Linked DNA regions of Homo sapiens: regions 2, 3 and 4 are each linked to region 1. Evidence: promoter capture Hi-C in 16 types of primary human blood cells and fetal thymus (Javierre and others, 2016). All regions are on one chromosome and are shown on one strand. The core of a region is centred on a gene start or on the middle of the fragment in contact, and the rest is flanking DNA. Distances in the headings are between cores, read along the strand shown. Region 1 holds the start of MYO10 (myosin X). Region 2 overlaps BASP1-AS1 (BASP1 antisense RNA 1). Region 3 overlaps BASP1-AS1 (BASP1 antisense RNA 1). Region 4 has its middle 89 kb from the start of MIR10522.

Evidence for each region. The method cuts DNA at HindIII sites, captures the fragments that hold promoters and counts their contacts. A CHiCAGO score of 5 or more calls a contact.
Region 2: a fragment that was not itself captured here is called in contact with the fragment with the promoter of MYO10 in region 1 in 4 of 17 cell types (endothelial precursors, M0 macrophages, M2 macrophages and 1 more); the score reaches 11.2 in endothelial precursors.
Region 3: a fragment that was not itself captured here is called in contact with the fragment with the promoter of MYO10 in region 1 in 5 of 17 cell types (endothelial precursors, M0 macrophages, M2 macrophages and 2 more); the score reaches 8.5 in endothelial precursors.
Region 4: a fragment that was not itself captured here is called in contact with the fragment with the promoter of MYO10 in region 1 in 1 of 17 cell types (endothelial precursors); the score reaches 5.6 in endothelial precursors.

What each region holds. Positions count from the first base shown.
Region 1 is chr5:16,934,642-16,938,036 of GRCh38, forward strand. It overlaps MYO10 (myosin X), which reads right to left and starts at 1,647. Exons shown (of 41, transcript NM_012334.3): 1 at 1,147-1,647. The coding sequence starts at 1,167. The HindIII fragment of the contact is 4,395 bases long and covers 1-2,479 here.
Region 2 is chr5:17,165,268-17,168,662 of GRCh38, forward strand. All of the region lies in intron 1 of BASP1-AS1 (BASP1 antisense RNA 1), which reads right to left. It overlaps LOC105374664 (a long non-coding RNA gene), which reads left to right. Exons shown (of 4, transcript XR_001742614.2): 2 at 983-1,071. Among named protein-coding and RNA genes, the nearest start is that of MIR10522, 11 kb to the left of the region's middle. The HindIII fragment of the contact is 2,473 bases long and covers 325-2,797 here.
Region 3 is chr5:17,148,123-17,151,517 of GRCh38, forward strand. The region is part of intron 2 of BASP1-AS1 (BASP1 antisense RNA 1); the gene reads right to left. Among named protein-coding and RNA genes, the nearest start is that of MIR10522, 6.2 kb to the right of the region's middle. RefSeq lists an enhancer at 2,961-3,395. The HindIII fragment of the contact is 369 bases long and covers 1,463-1,831 here.
Region 4 is chr5:17,065,230-17,068,624 of GRCh38, forward strand. No RefSeq gene overlaps it. Among named protein-coding and RNA genes, the nearest start is that of MIR10522, 89 kb to the right of the region's middle. RefSeq lists an enhancer at 670-1,251. The HindIII fragment of the contact is 5,549 bases long and covers 1-3,395 here.

The sequences.
Region 1 (3,395 bases), core at 397-2,896:
CACAATGAATGTGGGTATCACATCTGAAACACCACTTTTAAAAACTAGATATGACTACTAAACAAGAATGCATTTATCACTTTGGCCAGTATGAATAGCTGTCTGAGAATACAGTCAGTGAGCATGCAGAAAGCAGAATGACTTGAAATATTATATCCAATTAAATCAGATAAACCAAGTCGGCTAACACAGAGGCAAGCCCTCATCAATCTGATTTGCTGGAAGACTCCAAAGCGGTTCTGCACTCAGAAAACATTCCCTGGCTTTCAACGAAAATCACATCAGACTCTCTCAAGTCAACTAAGTTTACTTTGAGCCACTTCAAACCTCAAACTTAAACAGAATTTATTAAATAAACACAACCAAGAAAGGAAAGGGAGCCAAGAAACCACAGTAAGTCTCGATCCCAAAGGGGGAAAAAGGGTTCTCAAGTTAAGTTTCAGTGTCCCACCCTCAACGACCCTAAAGAGGGCATCCGTTTCATCTATTAAAATAGCCACTGTTTGCCCTAAACGAATTTTCTTTACATTCGAATTCAAAATCTGCATGGACACTCTACACAAATACATGATCATTTGATCCCAGGGTCTGGAGTTATCCCAAGCCTTAAAAGAGCACTTCTCGGCGAGCAAAGTAACCGATTAAACCCTTGCCTCTCCTTCTCACACTTCATTAAGCCGTCTCCTCTGGAAGTGTTTGAACCCCTGCACAGGAAGCCCGCACGTTTTGCAAAGGAAATACCAGACAAGACCTTTCTTGGAGAAAGGCAGGTCCCCGCTGAACATTTTATTGGGCTTCCTGCACCCGGGCAGTCGAGCGGGCGGATCGCCCCGCCCGCGCCCCGGCGCGCGCCGCCTCACCTGGCGCGGGTGTCCCAGGGCGCCCCGAGAGCCAGCCACCCACGCAAACGGAAACGCACCTTCGCTACCTCCCGGAGCAAAATGCGAGCGCGGGACAGGACGAAACAAAACCTGCCCGGGCTTACTCATCAGAGACTCCGCGGGGGGATGGGGGGTGATTTCAGGAGACTCCCAGAAAGTTGCGCCTTCCAGGGCTTAGGAAAAAGTACCCAGGGCGCGCGGCGTGGTGGGCAGACGCCTCTCTCCCTGGGCTCCGGAGGCCAGGTCGGACTGGGAGCGCACTTACCTCGGTGAAGAAGTTATCCATTGTTCCAGCGCAGTCCCGGACTCGCCGAGTGCCGCTCCGACTCGCGGAAGTCAGCGCCGCCGCGGGTCCGGGGAAACCATGCGTGTCACGGCGCCACTCCCGAGGACGCGCGCCCGCGGGGCTCCCCTGCTGCCATCGCCCGGTCCCTTCTTGTCCTTCTCACCTTTTGTTCGCCCAAACCCAAGTCCCTAACTCGCCCGTCCCGACGGCAGCCTTTGTCTCTTCTTCCTCCAAGTTCCTCACTACTGGGCGCAGCGCTCGCAAGCGGAGAACAGCTGGTGGCACATTCTTCCCCCAGGCGGGGGAAGGCGGCGGGGTGCTGGCGAGCGCGGCCCCCTCCCTCTGCGCTCCGGCCGGGGGCCCTCGGGGCGGGCAGGAGGACAGCGGGCCGCAAAGTGAGCAGGAGCCGCGATCCCCGCGCGAGCGCTTGGAGGTGAGCAGTCCCGCGCCGCGGCTCAGCCAGCTCTCGCCCGCGGGACTACAGCCCAGCGACCTCGCCCCGCCCTCCCGCAGCCGGCCCCGCCCTCCCGCAGCCGGCCCCGCCCTCCCGCTCGCGGCCCCGCCCCCAGGAGCTTGGCCCTCCGCCAACCACACCGTCTGGCCCCGCCCGGGCGGAGCGCCCCGCCCCCTTCCCGACCAGGCCCCGCCCACTCTAAGCCCGAAGCAGCCGCAGGCTCGTTAGCGGACCCGGGAGGGGGCCGCGTGTTTCCCCAGGTCTTCCCACGTAGGCGTGGGGAGGGGATTTAACTCTTCCCTCTGCAGAGAGAGACTAAACAATCACTTAGAGGGGAGGAGAAGGGACTGGGGGCTTCTGTGCCTTTCATGTTTAGCAGACCCGGGAACCGGCTCAACACGGATCTCATTAATGCAGCCCGGTAGACTAGCAATCTCGGGAAGGAAGCGCGGTCAGCGGAGCTGCCGGGGCTGCGGGGCCAGATCAAAGCGGAAGACGGAGGCTAATCAGAATTTCTGGAAGCTGCATTCCCGTGTTGACTTTCTGTCCTGCAGTCGGGTTTGCTTAAGACGTTTGCGTAACAGCGGGGAAATGTAGTTTTGAAACTGGAAGGGGACGTGGCCAATATCACCTTTAAAAATGTAACCCTTTTCTAGACCTCAAGGAAGCAGAGATGGCAGATGGCACTGAGATGGACGAATGATCAAACCCACCTGGCACTGAGTCCCGTTTCCCCTAGGGCAGTTCTTTTAACTTTATGCTGTGCGAGGGTCACCTGGGAACCTTGTTAGAACGCAGGCTGGAACAATCTGCTTTCCAGGTGCCCCTCAGGTGCTACCTGGTCCTGTGCTGAACGAAAGCTTGTAACAAGTAGAGAAATTAAGAGTAAACGTTTGTAGCAATTTAATAATGCCACGACATCCAAGCACATGATCAGTGGACTCTTTGAACCGAGTATAAACCAGTTTGGGTGTTGTCAGACTCACGTGGTGAGTCACACCTGGCGCCGCAGTGTATTGGTACCTGGCCGACTGGGAACAAAAATGGCTGGTTCTTCAGCACAAAAGATTTGAGATGCTCTCTCCAGGGAATTTGCCAACTGCTACTCAACCTTTAAAACTCAGCTCACAAAGTCACACCTTCCAGGGGAAGGAACCCTTCCCAAAGATGCTACTCCACTCACCCCACCCAAGCTCCCCGTAACCACTGGGCTAGATGCCCACTCTAGGATTTATTCCTAAGACTGTTGGGGAAGGACTGTGCTTTAAGATGAGTATCCCCAGGCTGTCTCACAGCATGAATGAATGAATGAAACATCCTTCTGTAATCCTTATGGGGAAAGTCAAGCATGTTTGTAACTTATCCCAGTCCAGTTCTTCACCATTAATATCATTGCTCCCACCTCACTTCCCTTTAGAAAGAGTCAAGGTGTAAATTAGTTAATGATATTGTGCAATGTTGTTCTGTTTCACAGGTTTACACGCTTAAGGCGCTGAGCCATTAAAGCTTGTGTCCAAGGTCGCAAGGAAAGTGAAGATGGAGTCAGGATAAATACCAACAATCCCAGTGCTTAGTCAAATGGGTCCTGCAACCACTGGTGTTCAGATACTGGAGCAGAACAATTACAGTCATTATGGTATTAATCTGCACACAACATCTCTGCCAGAGAAATTACCAGGGAGATTGTTGAAGTGAGTGTGTGGGTGTGACGTGGTTCCCAGCATCAGCCCAGCCACTGATACGTTGGGCAACCTCGCCATGTCATTTCAAAAGT
Region 2 (3,395 bases), core at 311-2,810, 230 kb after region 1:
AGAGAGTTGTAAAATAGCTCAAAGACAATGAAAACTGCAGGCCCTTGTAGAATCAGATAATCTTGAAGGGCATGCTACCCAGGAGACACCTGTAAGTTTATTTATAACTTGCCCATTCAACGTCTTTCACAAGTTGTCCTTACCTTGGTAAATAGGCAGATCGTATGGGCCTGCCTTGATGAAATTAGAAGAATGAAATTTTCTGGCTTTTCTTCACTTTGAGGTCAAGTAGTTTGCTCAAAGTTTTCAAGTGGTTGACACAGAATGATACTTTATTTGGGACAGGATCCATCCCATTCTCTCCTCCTGAACTTTCTTTTGTGAAGCTTCTCCTTCTGTATATTCTTAGTGTTCTGGGTCCTTTGCTTTGATCAGTGATTTTTTTTTTCTTTCTTTCTTTCTTTTTTTTTTTTTTTGAGACGCAGTCTCGCTCTGTAGCCCAGGCTGGAGTGCAGTGGTGTGATCTCGACTCACTGCAACCTCCACCTCCTGGGTTCAAACAATTCTCCTGCCTCAGCCTCCTGAGTAGCTGAGACTACAGGTGCGTGCCACCATGCCAAGCAAATTTTTATATTTTTAGTAGAGATGGGGTTTCACCATGTTGGCCAGGGTGGTCTCGATCTCTTGACCTTGTGATCCACCCGCCTCGGCCTCCCAAAGTGCTGGGATTACAGGCGCCCAGCCTGATAGGTGATTTTTACTTAGCATTGTAGATATTTCTTCCCTGAATCTTATCACCATCAGCCCATGCCTTTCTCTGTCATTATGCTGGGCAGGTCACAAAAGCAAATTTAGATCAATTATATGCTCTAGAAGAGTAACACAAACAGCCTTCTTCTATTTTATAACAGTTATACACACTATGATTTATACTCACTATCAATATTTCCATAACACCATGTAACTAGAAGTAGAGTCATGACAAAATAGGTGAAAAAGCCTTTAATGATTTGAGGAATTTTTGCTATTTCTTTTACAATAGCAGTCAAAAATGCCAGTCTGAGGAGTTTGAATTTAATCCTGTGATTCAGTGATCCCAAAGGCGCTGTGTCTTCTCAAAAGATGCAAAAGGTAATCCAGTTGGGAGTGGGCAAATATATTACAACTATTTGAATTTTATCTCATACTTTCATTAAAATTTAGTTTTTAAATTTATCTGCAGTAAAATTGAGTTTTTTTAATTGGTGTATAGTTTTCTGGATTTTAACACAAACATATAAGTTATTGCAACCTATTATAATAACATCACTATAATCAGGACATACAACAGTTTCATTACCCCTCCTCAATGACACAAGAGATCATGCCACACTTTTTTTTTTTTTTTTTTTTTTGAGACAGAGTCTCGCTTTGTCGTCCAGGCTGGAGTGCAGTGGCGTGATCTCGGCTCACTGCAAGCTCTGCCTCCTGCGTTCATGCCATTCTCTTGCCTCAGCCTCCCGAGTAGCCGGGACTACAGGCACACGCCACCACGCCTGGCTAATTTTTTGTATTTTTAGCAGAGACAGGGTTTCACCGTGTTAACCAGGATGGTCTTGATCTCCTGACCTCGTGTTCTGCCCACCTCGACCTCCCAAAGTGCTGGGATTACAGGCGTGAGCCACCACGCCTGGCCCATGCCACACTTTTAAATTTATATTTGTATATATATATAATTTTACAATATGCAAAATATATTAGCAAAGTAATGCATGTTTATAATTTTTAAATAATCCCATTTTAGAGGTGTGTGCTCAAATGTTTTTACTAAGAGAGGCATATGGATATCAGCTAAACTTTTGTTTAAGAAGATAATTAGGCAACTGAGCTAAAACAGAGAACCTGGAGGTTGGTGGACAAAGTAGGAGATGATTGTAATTCCTCAAGCAAGACATGCTGAAGGCCTAGACTAATGAGTGTCAGAGGAGGAAAGATGGATTTCAAAGACTTCTCCGAGGCGGGGTTGGGGAGGTGTTGGTAAATAGATGTGAGCATGAAGGAGAGGGAGAAATTCAGTTTAAATGTCAGGTTTGCTACGTGGAAAGCAGGGTTGGTGGTGGTAGCATTCATGGGGAACTTGACTGACTATAGAAGGCAGAGCTGATTTATGAACTGGGGAGAAACCATGATGTCATGATTTACATGATTTCATGTAAATGATGTGGAATAGTTTAGGTGATGGGATGCATATTGGAATTACCTTTTGGATTTATGCTAGATTATTCTAGCCAGTTGGAGCAGGTAAAAGATGCCTAGGCTCGTTTCCTATCTGTCATATAATCACCTCACACTCCTGGAAATGGGCTTTAAAAGGGACATTTCTTAATCCTTCTGAAAAATTGTAGTTCAGACTTTGGCCAATTAAACCTCAGGGGTGCTCTCAACTGGAAAACCACTTGGCACAGGGCAGTCAAGAACTGCTGTTAGTGGTCAGTGCCTGTTCTATCTTAACTCCTTCCCTGCTGAGAGGTCAGCTGGACTCCAGCAAAGGCCTGGATATGCATGAAAAAGGATGAGGGGTGAGGATGGAGAGGTGCATCTGTTCATCTGAGCATTCCCCTGTTTAGCTCTATAGCCAGGTCTGAGGCTATCATGGGCAAAAAAGGAAACCCAGAAGGGCCTTGAGCTTATTTTAAAGTCAAAGTGAAAGACTATAGAGTCTTAATTATGAGTTGATATCATTTCAGAAACTTTTCTCTTGTAGCCTTTTTGAGCAGTGGTCTCTCATGTTACAGGGGAGGCCTGTACCCCTAAAAGTATGCAAGAAAATTGGATACAGATGTATTCTTTAATCTGAAAAAAAATAAAGAAGACACTAAGCTTTACTGATACTTACACATGACTGAGAGCAAGCAGTTCACGTGTAGAGTTGATAAATAAGTGTCATACTGGGGATGCCTGGTCAGAAATCTTTTACTGATAGGGCCACATGACCCAGAAAGTTTGGGCTTTAATGGTGTATCAGAGAGATGAGAAGCAGGCAGGCTAGATAGAAGCAGATAGGTTTTTGCAAGTGAGAGGAGAGGGGGCAGTCGGGACAGTGAGATAAAGAGGAAGAGGCAGAGGGGATGGTATTTAGGAGGTAAATTCTACAGGATTTGGTGACTGATGATTGATGAATTTTGAGTGAATCTTTGATAAGACACCCCGCCATGAAAAACAATTTTGTCTCCTTAGTGCTTCTAGAGACCTGCCATCATTTCTGTGATGGCAAAATTATCTACCTAGTTATTTGTCAGTCTTCTTCCTCTCTCCAAATGCCTTTGGAGTTGTATCTCCAGTAATTTAGTGGATACTAAATACATGTTGCTATGTGAATATTACATGAAATGTTTTAACAGCTCAAAATATGGAAGATAAACTTTTTTTTTTTTTTCCTGAGATAGGGTCTTGATCTGTCGCCCAGGCTGTAGTGC
Region 3 (3,395 bases), core at 397-2,896, 210 kb after region 1:
AGATCGGGGTGGCAAGGATGGGTGTAATGGATTCCAGCCTTCATCTGCCCTCAGTGAAGGCAGAGGGCCACAACTCTTCTTCCCCCCACCTTTTTTAGAGACAGGATCTCATTCTGTTATGCAGGATGGAGCACAGTGGCTCAATCATAGCTCCCTGCAGCTTCAAACTCCTGGGCTCAAGTGATCCTCTTGCCTTGGCCTCCTGAGTAGCTGGGACGACAGGCATGTGCTATCTTGCCCAGTTTTAACATTTTTGTAGAGATGGTGTCTGTGTTGCCCAGGCTGGTCTCAAACTCCTGGCCCCAAGCAGTCTTCTCACCTCAGCCTCCCAAAGTGGTGGGAGTACAGGCATGAGCCACCATACCCTGTCTAACAACCTTTGTTTTTCTATTCTAATCGCCCCCAAATTTATTGACACATGGAAACATTTCCAAGTTGTGCTCAGGGCTTCTTTAGGTAGGGTAGCCAATTGTCTGTATTTGCCCAGAATGCTCTGGTTTTATCACTAAAAGTCCTACATCCTAGGAAGGCCCCTAGCCCTGAGAATATCAAGGTGCTCAGTCATTGTACACTCATCCCTAAGAGAAACACTGAGCACAACATGGTTCTGTAGTCAAAGAATCTTAGAAACCTCTTCCTCTTGTTTTCATTTAAAAAAAAAATTGTGGTAAAAAAACACATAACTTAGAATTTACCATCTTAATTATAGTCATGTGCTGCATAATGACATTTTGGTCAATAGTGGGCCTCATATATCATGGTGTTCCTGTAAGATTATAATATCATATATTTACATTATCTATGCTTTGATATGTTTGATATACAAAAATTTACCATTGTGTTACAGTTCCCTATAGTCTTCAGTACAGTAACCTGTTGTACAGGTTTGTAGCCTAGGAGAAATAGGCTCTACCATGTAGCTTAGGTGTGTAGTAGGCTATAGCGTCTGGGTTTGTGTGAGTACACTCTCTGATGTTAACACAGTGATGAAATAGCCTAACAATGCATTTCTCCAAATGTATCCTCATCATTAAGCAAAACAACTGTTTCTTTTTTCTTTTTCTTTTTTTTTTTTTTGAGACAGGGTCTTGCTCTGTCACCCAGCCTGGAGTGCAGTTGTGCAATCTTGGCTCACTGCAACCTCTGTCTCCAAGGTTCAAGCAATTCTCCTGCCTCAGCCTCCCAAGTAGTTGGGACTATAGGCGCACGCCACCATGCCCGGCTAATTTTTGTATTTTTAGTAGTGACGGGGTTTCACCATGTTGTCCAGGCTGGTCTCGAACTTCTAGCTTCAAGTGATCCACCTCAGCCTCCCAAAGTGTTGGGATTACAGGCGTGAGTCACTCTACCTGACCCATGACTGTATTTCTAAGCGTACAGTTCAGTGGTATTAAGTATGCTTGCATTGTTGTTTTTTTTTTTGAGATATAAAAGTCATAATAATATATTGAAGTATTTAATAAGCTTCTCAGTGAAGGAACTTGTTAAAACTTACTCTTTACCAAACTTCTGCGGTCATGGAGCCTTTGGGCAATAGCTCTTAACGCTGCTGAACATAACTTGAACATAATGCTCGTATGGAAACCCTTTTTTATCTTGCTCAGTAATAAAAGTATTGGACAATATTTTCCATTAAGCAAGTTTCTGCTTTCTGGAAGTATCTATAGACCTTCCCTAATTCACTTCAAGAGCTGAGAGAGAGACATGTATCTGATATCCAGAAGTTTAACTAAGAATATGTTTTTCCCTTAGTACAAAGGTGTTACAAGTGATGGTTAGAGTTACCAGAGTTGTATATGGGTTGAATAGGCTTTTATGCTTTGGCCTAGGAAGCTTCTCTCTGCAAAATTATCAGCTGCTTAGGAAGAACAGCTGGTACCTCTGGGGTCTGAATAGTGATTGGGACACAGTGGGCATTCAAGATATTTTTACTGAGCTGAACTAATGTTTATTTTTACTATTGCTTCCATTGAGGTAGTGAATTTTTTGTTTGTTTGTTTTTACTTTATTTTAATTTTTTGAGACAGGGTCTTGCTCTGTTGCTTAGGCTGGAATGCAGTGATGCGATCATAGCTCACTGCAGCCTCAATCTCCCGGGCTCAGGCCATCTTCTCGTACCAGCCTCCTGATTAGCTGGGACTACAAGTATACACCCTCACGCCTGGCTAATTTTTTATTTTTAGTAGAGACGAGGTCTTATTATGTTACTCAGGCTGGTCTGGAACTCCTGAGCTCAAGTGATCCTCCTACCTCGGCCTCCCAAAGTGCTGGGATTATAGGCCTGAGCTATTGTGCATGGCCAGTAATTAATTATGAATTATATATATGATACGCTTAGTTTAAAAACTGGAGACTACTTGTATTTATATTTGAAAGTTGTTTGTGATTAAAAAATTTTAAGGGTGGAATTTATAGTTTAAACCATCTTTTAAAATTTCCCACCAAAATAGCTTTCTTTGTGATGATAGTTCTATTTCTGAGAAAGAGCAGGCACAACTGCCGAATTCCAGATGTCAGAACATGGCATGGGCTCCAAAAATGGCAGCCAGGGCTACCATATGAGTTGGCAGTTCTCACAGAGAAGTCCTTGGAGAAGTTAAAAGTGGATGTAGATGAAGAGAACGTTGTGTATTCCAGCTAACATCAGAATGGAAGCCAGAATCTACGTCACCCAAATCCTGGGCTGATGAGCTCTTGTTATACTTTATCTTGGTATTCTTCAGAATATGTCTTCCCTGGAGAAAACATAAGGTGAGGATTCAATTCCAAGGTCAAATGAGTTAGCACAAGCTCTTTTCCCTTCCTCCTTCAATACCTAGTAAATTGGTATTATATTTTCTTTTCTTTTTTCTTTTCTTTTTTTTTAGAGACGGAGTCTTGCCCTGTTGCCCAGGCTGGAGTGCAGTGGTGCGATCTCGGCTTACTGCAACTCCTGGGTTCAAGCGACTTTCCTACCTCAGCTTCCCAAGTAGCTGGGATTGCAGGTGTGCACTACCACACCCAGCTAATTTTTGCATTTTTAGTAGAGACAGTGTTTCTCCATGTTTTCCAGGCTGGTCTCGAACTCCTGGCCTCAAGTGATCCACCTGCCTCGACCTCCCAAAGTGCTGGGATTACAGGCGTGAGCCACCGTGTCCGGCATATACATACATATATATATATATTGGAGCCAGGGTTTTACTCTGTCACCCAGGCTGGAGTGTGGTGGTGTGATCATAGTTCACGGCAGCCTCGAACTCCTGGGCTCAGGTAATCCTCCCACCTCAGCCTACCGGAGCAGCTGGGACTACAAACATGTGCCATCAGACCTGGCTAATTTTTTGTAAAGATGGGGTTTTGCCATGTTGTGCAGGCTGGTCTCGAACTCCTGGGTTCAAGCAATCCTCCTGCCTCGG
Region 4 (3,395 bases), core at 510-3,009, 130 kb after region 1:
CTAAAAATACAAAAATTAGTCAGGCATGGTAGTGGGTGCCTGTAGTCCCAGCTACTCGAGAGGCTGAGGCAGGAGAATCGCTTGAAATTGGGAGGCAGAGGTTGCAGTGAGCAAGATGGTGCCATTGCACTCCAGCCTGGGGCACAGAGCAAGACTCCATCTCAAAAAAAAAACAACAAAAAAAACCCAGATTATAATTTTTTTCATATTTTTATTTGGTGCCCTAATGGAATAGGTTCCTTTTTCTATTCTGACATATGAATTACTCTTGTAATTCTCAAACTGTAAATGTTATTTATTTCTCCTTGTTTTACTTCCAAGGAAACCAAAATCATGGTATTTTGAAGACCAGAGATATGAGTCTCCGTTGTTTGGCATCCCACTGACCCCACATCTGTTTCGCTGCTAATGCTCTGCTGCCAGAACTATCCAAGCTGCCTCCCTCTGGGCCCAGGGACTATTGCTGAAGAGGTGGGTGTGTAAGATTGTAAGAGCTGGCTTTGTGGGAAAAAATTAGGTCAAGGTCAAACCCTCCAAATCAAGAAGGAGGTACAAAAATGCCTAAACAGCTGGTAAAGCAAGTTTAGTTGTCTTCTAAACTATTATGTGTCGCTTTTACATCCACCCCAACCAAAAAATATTCTGCCTACTTTCATGCGCGTCCGTGTGAAGAGACCACCAAACAGGCTTTGTGTGAGCAGTAAAGCTGTTTATTTCACCTGGGTGCAGGTGGGCTGAGTCTGAAAAGAGAGTCAGCGAAGGGAGATAAGGGTGGGGCTGTTTTATAGGATTTGGGTAGATAAAGGAAAATTACAGTCAAAGGGGAGTTGTTCTGTGGTGGGCAGAGTGGGGGTCACGAGGTGCTCAGTGGGGGAGACTTTTGAGCCAGGATGAGCCAGGAGAAGGAATTTCACAAGGTAATGTCATCACTTAAGGCAAGGACCGGCCATTTTTACTACTTTTGTAGTGGAATATCATCAGTTAAGGCAAGGACCGGCCATTCACACTTATTTTGTGGTGGAATGTTATCAGTTAAGGCGGGGCAGGGCATATTCACTTCTCTTGTGATTCTTCAGTTACTTCAGGCCATCTGGAAGTATACATGCAAGTCACAGGGGTTGCGATGGCTTGGCTTGGGCTCAGAGGCCTGACACTTACTATAGAGTTAAAGACAATTATTTACTAACAGGATGAAAATACCTTGTAACAGGCTGGGCGCAGTGGCTCACGCCTGTAATCCCAGCACTTTGGGAGGCTGAGGTGGGCGGATCACGAGGTCAGGAGATTGAGACCGTCCTGGCTAACACGGTGAAACCCCGTCTCTACTGAAAATACAAAAAATTAGCTGGGTGTGGTCGCGGGCACCTGTAGTCCCAGCTACTTGGGAGGCTGAGGCAGGAGAATGGCGTGAACCCGGGAGGCGGAGCTTGCAGTGAGCTGAGGTCCTGCCACTGCACTCCAGCCTGGGTGACAGAGTGAGACTCCATCTCAAAAAAAAAAAAAAAAAAAAAAAAAATCCCTTATAACAAGCCTCCTAGGTATAACACTCCCAATTATGAGTTGTGAAGATAAATCTCTGTCTCTCTATCTGTATTTTTCAGAACAATGCTTATATTTTGTGTAGTTAATTGCTATATATCTGTAACAAAAACCAAGCTCACAGGAGTTCAACACATAGAAGTTAAAAATAAGTCGGTCTTGTAACTTTTCCTTTTGGTTTTGTTGTTGGCTTTTTAACTTAATAATTTTAAGAAGTAACAAATGCTTGTCCACATCCATTCCTATCTGGCCTAGAACAATTAATTGGCTATAAGCCTTTTGACTCTTTTTTTTTTTTTTTTTTTGAGACGGAGTTTCGCTCTTGTTGCTCTGGCTGGAGCGCAATTATGACTTCTGTGACAAAACCTCCTTTCCTTTCCCAAATACCAGTATATGTGCAATACGAAGGTGGTAGGAAAAATAGATTTGTCTACTGTTAACAAGTCTATAACAATTTAGACATTTAGGACCAGGCATTCCTTGCACGTGATTTATACTCTTCTCAGGATGTTATACCTATGGAGATAAATTGGCTAGGAGAGATATTAAATTTATTGGATTCTGAGTTAATGTTGGTTCTACAATCTTCAAGTAAGATTTATCATAAAGTTCGGCCCGGCGCAGTGGCTCACACCTGTAATCCCAGCACTTTGGGAGGCCGAGGGGGGCGGATCATGAGGTCAAGAGATCGAGATCATCCTGGGCAACATGGTGAAACCCTGTCTCTACTAAAAATACAAAAATTAGCCGGGTGTGGTGGCAGGCACCTGTAGTCCCAGCTACTTGGGAGGCTGAGGCAGGAGAATCGCTTGAACCTGGGAGGCAGAGCTTGCAGTGAGCCGAGATCGTGCCACTGCACTCCAGCCTGGTGACAGAGCGAGACTCCGTGTCAAAAAAAAAAAAAAAAAAATTTTTTTTTAATCATAAAATTCGAGTGACCCTTTATAAGGAGGGTAAACACATTGTGAGTCTAATCAAAGAATATGATGCTGCGTGCAGTGACTTTTTTGGGCTGGTTAGGTTGTTTACTGCTCTCTGACTCATAATCTTATTGGATGCCTAATCTTTGCTATCTTTATGATATTTGTCACTGTATTAGCATTATATAGCTCCTGTAAATGTTACGCCAGATACAGCAAAAGGAAAAAGGCACAACTGAAGACCCAGATCATGATAGCTCACAAAATGGATCTGTTGCCAGATTTTTTTTTTTTTTTTTTTTTTTCCAGACTAAACCCTAGGCCTGACTTCATCTCACCCCTTAAACAATTGGCTATTATATCAGGTCAGACCGTGTCCTCTCCCCCATGATCCAAATCGCTAATATTTTAAAACTGTTACCACCAACCAGACTACTCCAGGAATGAGCCTTCCTAGCACTGAGAGACCTCGCCAAATGACCAAATCAGATAACTCTAGGAATGAGCCTTCCTAGCACTGTGGGACCTGTTGCTGTTTGGCCTGTATATGCATGCTATGGAATGCTTTTCGGCCAAGAGTGGGGACTGAAGACTAAACTCTGATTTTTTTTTTCTTGCCCAAATTCCTATCTAAGGGGTCCAGTCATGCCCTACGAACATAAATTCTCATCAGATGGGTTTTATTTGACCCTATATATCATGATTTGCTTCCCAACCTGACTCTGGCATAACATTACGAGACAAAGAAGAAAATAAAAATATTTTACCCCAAAACATGTTTCTTTGTCATATTTTGAAATGACCCTGCAAAGCTGTTCTTTGTGGGGGAAAATTTGCGTCTGTAAAGAATTGCTATTAACATAGCTAGATCTTTTTCTTCTAGACCCTCCCAATCCTAAAAAGATTAATTAAGGTCTGAATAGGAAACATTTGTCA